Regions from separate parts of the Homo sapiens genome. Here all the other regions are linked to region 1. Evidence: promoter capture Hi-C in human tissues and cell types (Jung and others, 2019). All regions are on one chromosome and are shown on one strand. The core of a region is centred on a gene start or on the middle of the fragment in contact, and the rest is flanking DNA. Distances in the headings are between cores, read along the strand shown. Region 1 holds the start of LIN7B (lin-7 cell polarity scaffold B). Region 2 holds the start of KCNJ14 (potassium inwardly rectifying channel subfamily J member 14). Region 3 holds the start of TSKS (testis specific serine kinase substrate). Region 4 holds the start of SCAF1 (SR-related CTD associated factor 1).

Evidence for each region. Contacts are between HindIII fragments. The study calls those that stand out against the background at their distance.
Region 2: a contact is called between the fragment with the promoter of KCNJ14 here and the fragment with the promoter of LIN7B in region 1, in 1 of the 25 tissues and cell types used here (stomach).
Region 3: a contact is called between the fragment with the promoter of TSKS here and the fragment with the promoter of LIN7B in region 1, in 1 of the 25 tissues and cell types used here (liver).
Region 4: a contact is called between the fragment with the promoter of SCAF1 here and the fragment with the promoter of LIN7B in region 1, in 1 of the 25 tissues and cell types used here (dorsolateral prefrontal cortex).

Annotation. Positions count from the first base shown.
Region 1 is chr19:49,112,995-49,115,666 of GRCh38, reverse strand. It overlaps LIN7B (lin-7 cell polarity scaffold B), which reads right to left and starts at 1,297. Exons shown (of 6, transcript NM_022165.3): 1 at 1,226-1,297; 2 at 700-818; 3 at 336-407. The coding sequence starts at 1,262. RefSeq lists a silencer at 898-1,477. The HindIII fragment of the contact is 18,984 bases long and covers 1-2,672 here.
Region 2 is chr19:48,454,196-48,456,867 of GRCh38, reverse strand. It overlaps KCNJ14 (potassium inwardly rectifying channel subfamily J member 14), which reads right to left and starts at 1,294. Exons shown (of 3, transcript NM_013348.4): 1 at 1,010-1,294. GRWD1 (glutamate rich WD repeat containing 1) reads right to left here. Exons shown (of 7, transcript NM_031485.4): 7 at 1-2,672. The HindIII fragment of the contact is 6,064 bases long and covers 1-1,531 here.
Region 3 is chr19:49,762,056-49,764,727 of GRCh38, reverse strand. TSKS (testis specific serine kinase substrate) reads left to right here and starts at 1,422. Exons shown (of 11, transcript NM_021733.2): 1 at 1,422-1,650; 2 at 2,496-2,672. The coding sequence starts at 1,481. It also overlaps the pseudogene RNU6-841P. RefSeq lists an enhancer at 2,669-2,672. The HindIII fragment of the contact is 39,317 bases long and covers 1-2,672 here.
Region 4 is chr19:49,640,878-49,643,549 of GRCh38, reverse strand. SCAF1 (SR-related CTD associated factor 1) reads right to left here and starts at 1,341. Exons shown (of 11, transcript NM_021228.3): 1 at 1,308-1,341. RefSeq lists a silencer at 1,131-1,420 and enhancers at 1,451-1,800, 1,911-2,010, 1,551-2,220, 2,221-2,672. The HindIII fragment of the contact is 1,761 bases long and covers 1-1,395 here.

The DNA.
Region 1 (2,672 bases), core at 48-2,547:
AGGGAGATCTGAGCCTCCGGACAGCAGCAAGAGGTAGCAGCATCTAACTATTGTGCAGTGAGAGGTCAGAGCGCCATGAGTTTCCTGGTTTGCACTGTACAGATGTTGAAGGTTATCTTCTACCAACCATGCCATACTGTTTCCATTTGCAGTTGCTAAAGATGCCTTAGTATGACATTTAAGTTAAAAATGTGCGATTATTTACTAATAGTAAGGTGGCACATAGATTTAGCAAAAATCATGAGGGAGGAAACAGAAATGACTGGCATGAAGGAGATATTGAGTTCGACTAGGCAGTTAAATAGACACCAGGAGCAATGGGGTGCGGGGCCCACCTTGGCTGTGGCATGGGCTCGGATCTCGGCGCTGCCGGTGATGTCCAGCGTGTCATAAAGCTGCTCATACACCTGGGTGAGGAGGCAGCGGCATCAGGGAGTCGCCAGCTCCTCCAGCCCTAGACGCAGGAGTTCAGGCCTCTAGACCCTCTCCCGCTACCACGCAAGGATCCGCCCCGCCCCCGCAACAGAAGGCCGAGAAAACTACAACTCCCGAAGAACCCCTGAGCTGAAGCGTTGGCACCCCAAGGCGGGCCGCCTCGGGAGCTGCCGGGAGGCGTAGTCTCCGGGCTCGGGACAAGCAGGAGGAGGAGGAGGAGGACGACGGCCACCAGCTCGCGCCCCTGCGCCGCGCGCCCCTCACCTCTCGGATAGCGGAGCAGAAGCGGCTCTGCAGAACTCGCTGGAGGGCCTGCAGCTTCTGCGGCGGCAGCTCCCCGCTGCGCTGGAGCCGCTCGAGGAGCTCAACCGCCCGGGACACGTCTGCGGGGCGGGGGCGGGGCGCAGAAACCCCGAGTGTCAGAGACCCCGAGACGCAGAGAAGCAAGGAGAGCGGCGGAGTGAGGCCGAGCGCACAGTCCGGGGAGGACGGCCGAAGCCTAGTCGGACACCCCGCAGAGTCCAGGGTGGCGCAGGAGAGACTGCCACCAGCGGCCCTGCGGCCCCGGGACCCCTCCACAGGCCGGGTTGTAAGGCGGGCGCCCAGCGTCCCGGCCCGCGCCCAGGGAGCCTCCCACACCTAGCGACCGCCCGGCCCCGGCGCCCGCCCCGCCCACCCCCTCCGGGTCCGCTGGCCCACCCGCACTGGCCTGACCCGGGAAGGGCGGGGACCGGGGGCTGGGTATGTAGGCCGCGGCCCGGGTGGGCAGGGCCCCCTGGCGCACGCTTACCCCGCTCCAGCCCCAGCGGCTCCACCAGCGCAGCCATGTCGGCGCCACAGCTGCCAGCCGCCCGCCTGCCCTGGCGCCGGCGAGGAGGGCGGGGCTGCGCGAGGCCACGCCCCGGGCCACGGGCGCCCCCTGCGGAGGCGCAGCCTGGAGAGCGCCCAGCTCTCCCTCGCCCGACTGCTCCGACCACCTGCCGCGCGCCAGCCGCGCCCTGCCCTCCGCCCCGGCCAGTCGGTCCTGTTGGCGACCCCTCCCACTGCAGGTTCGGTCTGTGTGTACCTTTCAGGATCCGTGTCTGCCTGCCCTCCACACCCGTCTATCCCCTGTCCATCCTTTCCCCACATTCATTCAACAAACTCTTGTGAAACATCTGAGCCCAAGTCATGGACACCGTGGTGAGCAGGACAGCCAAGCCCACGGCCCGAACGAAGCTTCCAGTCTATAGGGGAGGTAGACGACCAACTACGGCTGTGATGAGAGCTGAGAGTGGGGAGGTGATGATCTAGAAAACGAAGGAAATCCTAGAGGAGGGACATTGACATACAGTCCTGGGAGGTAAGATGAACAAGAGGTGGAGCTTGGGTCACCCCCACCACCCAGAAAGAGCCCACGTGGCTGGAAGCAGAGTTAGGATTGGTTGATGATGAGGTGAAAAGGTCGGCAGGATAGTTTATGCCTGGGCTCCTGCGTTGGCATATGCGCCTTGAGGATTTGGGGCTTCATGCAAACTCCTAAGAGAAAAATATGACACTCAAATTTGTATTATTATTATATTATTATTATTATTATTTTTGAGACGGAGCCTCGCTCTGTCGCCCAGGTTGGGCCTCAAATTTGTATTTTAAGATCACTGGGGCCGGGCACGGTGGCTCACACCTGTAATCCTAGCGCTTTGGGAGGCTGCAGCAAGACTACTTGAGCCCAGGAGTTCAAGACCAGCATAGGCAATATAGTGAGACCTCGTATCTATTGAAAAAAAAAAAATCACTGTAGCCACTGTGGAGACTGGTTTGGACAAGAACAAGAGGAGAAGCAGCGGGGCAACTTACGAGGCTACCACAGCCATCCAGGTGGCAGCTAGCACCAGGGCCAAAGCACAGAAGATGGGTGGGCAGATGTGGGAAATGTCTAGACAAGCCTTGGTGCTTGGCTATATAAGGGGATTGGGAGGTGCAGGAGAAGACAGTATTAAGGTGCTTTGGTGCCATTTTTAAGATGGTCTACACTGAAAGAGGGATACTGGATATTTTGTTTTTGAGACACAGTCTTCCCTCTGTTGCCCAGTCTCGAGTGCAGTGGCGTGATCTCGGCTCATTGCAACCTCTGCCTCCCGGGTGCAAGCAATTCTCCTGCCTCAGCCTCCTGAGTAGCTGAGAGTACAGGTGTGCACCTCCACACCTGCCAAATTTTTGTATTTTTCATAGAGATGGGGTTTCACCATGATGGCCAG
Region 2 (2,672 bases), core at 45-2,544, 660 kb after region 1:
AATAAATAAATAATTAAAAATAAAAAATAAAGGAAGAAAAGAAATGGAGGGAATCGCAGCAGCCTGTCAGGGTGGACCAAAGGAAAGGGCTGGGCATGGACCCGCACCCCTCATTGCCTTCAGGGTTCACTGCAACGTTACCAAACGCTTGGCCCTGTGGTGGGGAACTTCCCAGGAACTGGCTGGATCAGGACAAACCATTCCAGGGGTTAAATAATTTGTGCTGGAACCTGGGGATCCTCAGGGGCTTCTTGGCAGGGCCTGGCACACTCCATTTGGAAAGAAGACCATGAGACAATGTCAAGTTTGGCACCAACTGGGTCTCCCAAAGCCCTGCACCTGCTTCCCACAACCACGCAGGCAGCCTGGCCATTCGCGAGGGTTCATTAGGCCCACTTGACAGAGGCAAGGCTGAGGTGAGGGGACCAGCCTGGCTGTGTCCAGTGCCCACAGTGTACCCCAACCTTGACTCTATCTCACCCCTGACAACCCTGCATGTTAGAGACTGTTCTCCCAAAAAGGGGAAATAGGCTCGTTGCCCAAGGGGGCGGCCTGGAGGTCAACATCAGGATGCAGCATCTACACCTGCAGCCCTCCCCAGCCTGGGGATCCCCACTCAGCACTGACTCCACCCTCAGGAACCACCCCCGTGGGCTGGGGGGGCAGGTGGGCACTGACACTGACCTGTGCTCCCCAGGCCCCAGCCTGGGCCTCTCACCCCCACTTGCCCATCTCTCACCAAAGCCCTTTGATGAAGGGACCTGGCTTTTCACAGAAAAGCCAACTGGGGCTGAGGTTAGTCCCTTGTCGCAGGTCTCTCAGCCAGTGGGGAGAGGAGTGGCAAAAGCTAGCCTCCCACCCAGGCCTCCTGGGAGCCACGGCCCGAGTGACAAACCACAGTCTTCTCAAGAGCACTCTGGTTTCAAACACACCTGGTATGTACGAGGCCTCGTGATGAGCTCCCGACATGCCCACAGCCCCCACTGGACTCTCAGACCCCACTGCTCACCTTGGCCGCTCAGGATGCCGGGAGGTGAAGATCATCACCCCCTTTCACAGTTGGGGAACAGGCTCAGGGAACGCCATGAGCTGGCCAGGCCCCCGCAGTGCCAGGGGGAATGCTGGTTGGGTCCTAAGCCTTTCTTTCCTTCCCAGAGTTCTGCCCTCGAAATCCTCCAGTCCCACCTCAGCCCCGTGAGGCAGACCCGTTGTCTACTTCCCAAAGCCAACGGGAACCTTCACCAGGGGGCCATCTGCGGCCAACATGGCCCAGCTCCCAGGCTGGCTGCGACTCAGGCTCAGGGCACCCCCCTCCCCTAGCAAAAGCAGGGCGGGAGGGAAAGGGATCCTCCACCTGACCTGCGAGAGCAGCTTAATGTTTCCATATAAAGGAGATACAGGGCTTAAGGTGCTTCAACTTCGTGTCAAAGTCACTGTCTAATCTGAGGCCAAGAAGCCCCGCCCCCAGGCCCCACCCTCACCCTCCCAAATCAACACTCTCACTCTTCCGAAACCAGGGGTGTTCCCCACCACTCCCCACCTACTGGTGGGGGCTGGACAGCAGGTTGGAAAGCAGAGACTACAGAAAGACAAAGAGATGCAGAGATAGGCAGGAGGAGGGGTGTTGAGAGGGTGCCCCAAGAAAAAGTACAGGGACCAAGCAGGACAGGGACCCTGAGAGAGAGGGGGACAGAGACCCAGAGAGGGCAGCAGGAAAGGGACATTGATCCAGAGAGAAAGGGACAGAGACCTTGAGAGAGGACAGAGACCCAGAGAGAGGGGAACAGAGACCTTGAGAGGATAGAGACTCAGAGACAGAGGGGGACAGAGACCCAGAGAGAGGGGGGGACAGAGACCTAGATGGAGGGGGACAGAGAAGATAGAGGCGGACAGGGCAATTGGGAAAACGAAAAGGAGAAAAGAAATGTTTTAAGAAATGGCGACATGGGGAGATGAAATTGTGAAGACAGAGAGAGGCAGAGAGAGATGGGAGAGACAGAGATGGGGGAGAGAGACAGAGACAGAGACAGACAGACTGAGAGGGTTTCTCTGAAAGGATGGAAGCCAGTGAGAAAATGCATAAAATGGGGATGGGGTGAGAGTTGGAGGCACTGAACCTGGGGGTGGATTCTCCTGGCGCTGAGCCTGTCACTGATGGGAAGACAAGGCCTTCTTGAAGGGGACAAGCTGAGGACAGGGATGCTGGGGCAGGGGTGGATGGGGGCGACGCAGCAGAGCAGGAGGGGATGGCTCAGCGGTGCCTTGCATGGAGGCACGTACCTGTTGGGGCGGCCCACCCCCATGCCCTCCGCTGGGGGCTCCTCGGCTAGGGCTGAGGGGAAGCCTCTGTGGGTGCTGAGGGGCTGTAGTCTGTCCTTGGTCCCAGGGGCCGTGTGACGGGCACCCGACCTCGGAGTCCACAGATGGATCAGAGGCTGGATGGAGGGGGGCCGGGGGTGGGGCTAGCTCAGAGCCGCAGAGGGGGAGCCAGGGAGGCCAGCCAGGCAGAGCGGCTGGGCCACAGCCCAGGCAGGCTGGACAGGAGACAGCGGCGGAGGAGCGAGACAGCGACTAGGGGGCAGGGAGACTGGCAGTGGGGGACGGGAGACTCTGAAAGAGGGGGACACAGAGAAGAAAGAAAGAAACGTGATAAAGGGGAGATGGACGGAGGG
Region 3 (2,672 bases), core at 173-2,672, 650 kb before region 1:
AACAGCATTTAAAATGTCTATTAGCAGTGATGTTTGAACTAGTCTTTTTGAGAAGTGTGAAGAGAACAGGAAAAGTCTGTCCCTAAATAGCAGGGCAGTGCTCGCTTCGACAGCACATGTATTAACATTGGAACGATACAGAGAAGATTAGCATGGGCCCTGCGCAAAGACCACATGCAAATTTGTGACATGTTCCATATATTTTTTAAATACTTTGGGCGGGCGGGGCGCAGTGGCTCACACCTGTAATTCCAATGCTTTGGGAGGCTGAAGTGGGCAGATCACGAGGTCAGGAGTTGGAGACTAGCCTAGCCAACACAGTGAAACCCTGTCTCTACTAAAAATACAAAAAAAAAATTAGATGGGTGTGGTGGCAGGTACCTGTAGTCCCAGCTACTCAGGAGGCTGAGGCAGGAGAATCGCTTGAAACTGGGAGGTAGAGGTTGCAATGAGCCAAGATCACGCCACTGCACTCCAGCCTGGGTGTCAGAGCGAGACTCCATCTAAAAAAAAAAAAAAAAAATTATAGCGGAGCATGGTGGCTCATGTCTGTAATCCCACACTTTGGGAGGCTAAGGCGGGTGGACCATTTGAGGTCGGGAGTTTGAGACCAACTTGGCCAACATGGTGAAACCCGTCTCTACTAAAAATACAAAAATTAGCCGGACATTGTGGCCAGCGCCTGTAGTCCCAGCTACTGGGGAGGCTGAGGCAGGAGAATCGGTTGAACCCCGGGAGGTGGAGGTTGCAATGAGCTGAGATCGCGCCACTGAACTCCAGCCTCCATGACAGAGAGAGACTCTGTCTCAAAAAAAATAAAAAGTATTAAAGAAAATAATAAATAAATAAACGGGGGAGGGGGATACCACCCTCTGTCCTGCCCCAACTCTCTACCTTCCTCTCCTCCCTCACCTTCTACCCTGACCCCGAGGCCCACCGCACCTAGCTTTCTTTTGTTGATCTACCTGTATATTGCCTTTCCCCCGACCCCGACGCCCCATAGAATATGAGACCCTCCAGGTCAGGGTCTGGATCTCAGCCCTCTTCGACCACAGTCTCTCAAACCCCAGCCAATTGTCAAATCCAGGAAGCTACATGAAGAATCAAGAACAAGTGCACAGGGCTGTGTGACCCCACGCTTAGTCTCAGGGAGAGGGAAGTTGGACCTCTCCCAAGAATCCGTGGGCCGACCCATTGTTAAGTTACAGGCTAGCATGAATCCATCCACTGGAGCTCTGAAGACGGGGGGCACATTGGGCATGTAACTAGAATCCTGAACAGGAGGAGTCCACTGAGAACCCTAGGGGAATGACCTGGGCCAGCATCTCTCCCTACCCTGTGCCCCCCACTCACTGGGGCCCAGTGGTTGGGTCCTTTGTGAGGCAGGCTGAGGGGACAGTGGATCCTGAGGGTCTGTGGTCACAGTAGGTAGGAAGTCTCAGAGGAAGGAGCCCCTCCCTGGGAGCCAGACCCCCACACCATGGCGAGCGTGGTGGTGAAGACGATCTGGCAGTCCAAAGAGATCCATGAGGCCGGGGACACCCCCACGGGGGTGGAGAGCTGCTCCCAGCTAGTCCCAGAGGCTCCCCGGAGGGTGACCAGCCGGGCCAAGGGGATCCCGAAGAAAAAGAAGGCCGTGTCGTTCCACGGGTGGGTTTGTTGCACACTGTCAGGGATGGTTCTAATGCCCAGCACTACCTCCAACAGAGCAGGAGTCCGACTGTGGGTGCTAGAGGAAGGGGAGGGGGAAAAGCCAGCAGGTCGGGGGCAGGAAAGAGGGCAGCAGTGAAGAGACATCAAGTCACAGGGAGGTAGAGAGGAAGAAGGTAATGGGGATGGATGGAGGGAGGAAGAAGGTAATGGGGATGGATGGAGAGAGGAAAAAGCCAGTGGGGAGGGAAGAAGGAGAAGGGAGGCTAGTGAATGAAGAAGAAAGTAGGTGGCAGAGAAGGGAGGAGAAAGTAGGCAGCGGGGAAGGAGAAGAAGAAAGTAGACAGTGGTGGTCGGGCACGGTGGCTCACGCCTGTAATCCCAGCACTTTGGGAGGCCGAGGCAGGTGGATCATGAGGTCAGGAGTTCAAAACCAGCTTGGCCAACATGGTGAAAAGCCATCTCTACTAAAAATACTAAAATTAGCTGGGCGTGATGGCACATGCCTATAACCCCAGCTACTCAGGAGGCTGAGGCAGGAGAATTGCTTGAACTGGGACCCGCAGTCGGAGGTTGCAGTGAGCTGAGATCGCGCCACTGCACTCCAGCCTGGGCAACAGAGTGAGACTCTGTCTCAAAAAAAAAAAAAAAAGAAAGAAAGAAAAAAGAAAGAAAGTAGGCAGCACAGGGAAGGAGAATAAAGTAGGCAGCGGGGACAGAGAAGGGAGAAACTTATATACAGTGAGGGTGGAGTCACAGGGGGTGAGGTATGGAGAAAGGAAGGCAGGAGGGCCCAGACACCCTGGGGCTGCTTCTCCACTTTTCTGCCTGTTTCTTCTCTGCAGGGTGGAGCCCCAGATGTCCCATCAGCCCATGCACTGGTGCCTGAACCTCAAACGGTCCTCGGCCTGCACCAACGTGTCACTGCTCAACCTGGCCGCCATGGAGCCCACTGACTCCACGGGGACAGACTCCACAGTGGAAGACCTCAGCGGCCAACTCACACTGGCTGGGCCCCCTGC
Region 4 (2,672 bases), core at 92-2,591, 530 kb before region 1:
ACAGAAGAATGCTCTGCAGATACTGCTAGGTCCTATCTGGATCAGTGGTTTCCCCAACAACAGGGTCATATACCAGTTTAGTGCTTCACAAATAGCTTGTTTTAAAAAGTAAATAGAACAAAATAGTTCTTCACAGCACAGCACAAGTAGTAAGTGGAAATGTCAATTCGTGGAAGGTGAGTTAATGTTAATACATTATGTTATATAATGTTAAATACATTATGACTGTCTGTACCAGGTCTCAATGAAAAAATGTATCTTAATGCAGATCACGGTCAACATGGCCCAGGTTTCCCCTTGAAAAGCACTGTAATAGTGGGTCTAGATGACCCTCCAGACTCTTCCAGACTAATGTAGATTAATTCTAACTCTCTCAATAACCCCCAGGGTAATGCAGAATCTTAAAACATTTTTCATTTGAATTACTGTCTGAAGGGCAAGTATATCTAAGCTGGGCAAAATTTCCTCATTCTCTTTCCGTATTATTATTCGCCACAAGCTGCTCTGACCCCAAAGGCATTCGAATTTGCTCCAGGCATCAAAACTGCATTCCTGCAGTCACATTAAAGCCATCTAGATGGTTCCAGGTCCTTCTAACTGCCCCCAGCCTCCTGTCACCCATTATTAGACACTACCCATACCTTGGAGACCCCAGACCCTCAGTACATCTCAATATTTGGCGCCCTTCCCTGGTGGGCATAACCCAACCCCCTAGGGGGCCCTAAATGACTTCTTAGCCCTTGAACACTCCTTCTAGGCCTGATAAATGGCCCCAGACTTATGCAGACCAGTTGCATCCTCAGGCCAGCCCATGCAGACACTTTCCAGCCCTAAAAGACATACCCCAGGCCTCTAGATGGCTCTGAAGATACTCTTCAGGTCTTGCAGACCCTCCTTCACCCCTGGGACATATCTCAAGATCTCAAGATGGCCCCAGAACCCTCTAACCAGACCCTAGCCTCCGGTCAGCCCAAAAAGACAATCTACAGTGTCTACAGACACGATCCAGGCCAGCTGTGTGATGGAGGGCAGGCCTTAGGCTCGGTCTAGGCCCAGAGACGCCCCAAGTCCTCTCGGAGACGCCCCATAGACGCCCCCAGGAACCCACGGATGCGTCCCGGGGCCCTGAGAAGGCCCCCCTCTCGGCGCCAGGTTTCGCCGCAGCTGCCGGGCCCGAGACCGCCCCGAGAAGCCCTCTAGGACCCGTGGCTTGTGGGGAGGACCCCGGGACAACTAGCGACCCAACTCCGCCCCGCCCACCCCAATAGGCCCGAGCCCCGCGGCCCGGACTGCCGCCGCCATCTTACCCCGCCGCTCGGGCTGCGGCTCCGGCCCCGGCGCGGGGCGGGGCGGGCTGGGGCGGGGTTCGTGAGCAAAGGAGGAGAGAGGCGGAGCTAAAGCGCCGCCGAGCTTGCCGGGATTTCAAGTACCGAGCACGGCGACGTGAAGGCCGGCGGGAAGGCAACCGCACTCGGTTTCCCAGAAGCCAATGGGACACATGGGGCGGGGTCCGCGCGATGCACGCCGGGAGGCGTAGTCCGCGCACCGCCTCTGTCGCGCGGGGACAGCTAATGGGGTGAGAGGTGAAGTGGGCGGGGCCGCGGTAGCCCGCGATGACGCCCCACAGTGCCCTGCGCGCGCGCGGAAAGGGTGGCGGAACAGGAGGTGACGTAAGAGGCGCCAGGCAGAACAGACGCAAGGGAATTGTAGTCCGGCGGAGTGAGCACGACTTGCTGGATGTTGTGCTGCCCACATTCTGGGGCTCTCAGAATCCAGATCCTCTAGGCCCCCCTAAATTTAGAACCAGACGGGATGCAGTGGCGCACACCGTAGTCCCACTCGGGAGACTGAGGCGGAAGGATGGCTTGAGCCTAGAAGTTAGAAGCCAGCCTAGGCAATATAGGGAGACCCCGCCTCTAAAAAAATAAAAATAGGCCAGGCGCGGTGGCTCACGTCTGTAATCCCAGCACTTTGGGAGGCCGAAGCAGGCGGATCATCTGATATCAGGAGTTCAAGACCAGCCTGACCAACATGGTGAAACCCAGTCTCTACTAAAAATACAAAAATTAGCCTGGCGTGGTGGCTAACGCCTGTAATCCCAGCTACTCGGGAGGCTGAGGTAGGAGAATCGCTTGAACCCGGGAAGCGGAGGTTGCAGTGGGCCAAGATCGCGCCATTGCACTCCAGCATGGGCTACAAGACGGAAACTCCGTCTCAAAAATAAACAAATAAAAATAAACTTAGAACCTAGAAGCCCGACCCCATAGCCGCCTCGTTCAGTACAGAGAAGTCTGAATTCCGAATCCTCTCACTCAGAGCAGTGTCCAGACTCCTATTTCCCTCCTCCCTCCGACTCAGGAGTCTGATTCTTCCTTCCTCGGATCCAAGAGTCGGTCTCCCAGACTAGTCCTGGTCTCAAGCTCTCACATACGAATTCGGGTCCCCCCAAGCCAGTGCCCTCGCTCGGATCCAGAATCCTGGGTCCCCAGCCTCTCCAATTCCTGGACCTAAGAGTCCAGGCCCCCGGCTCCCTCCTTTACCGAACCTAGTACGAAGGAACCTGTCTACCTTCCTCCCTGACACCCTCCTCCCCAGGACCCAGGAGTCCACATCTCCAGCCCCATTTTCTCCTAAGGACCCAGGAGTCTGGGCCCTCTGCTTCCTTCTCCTTC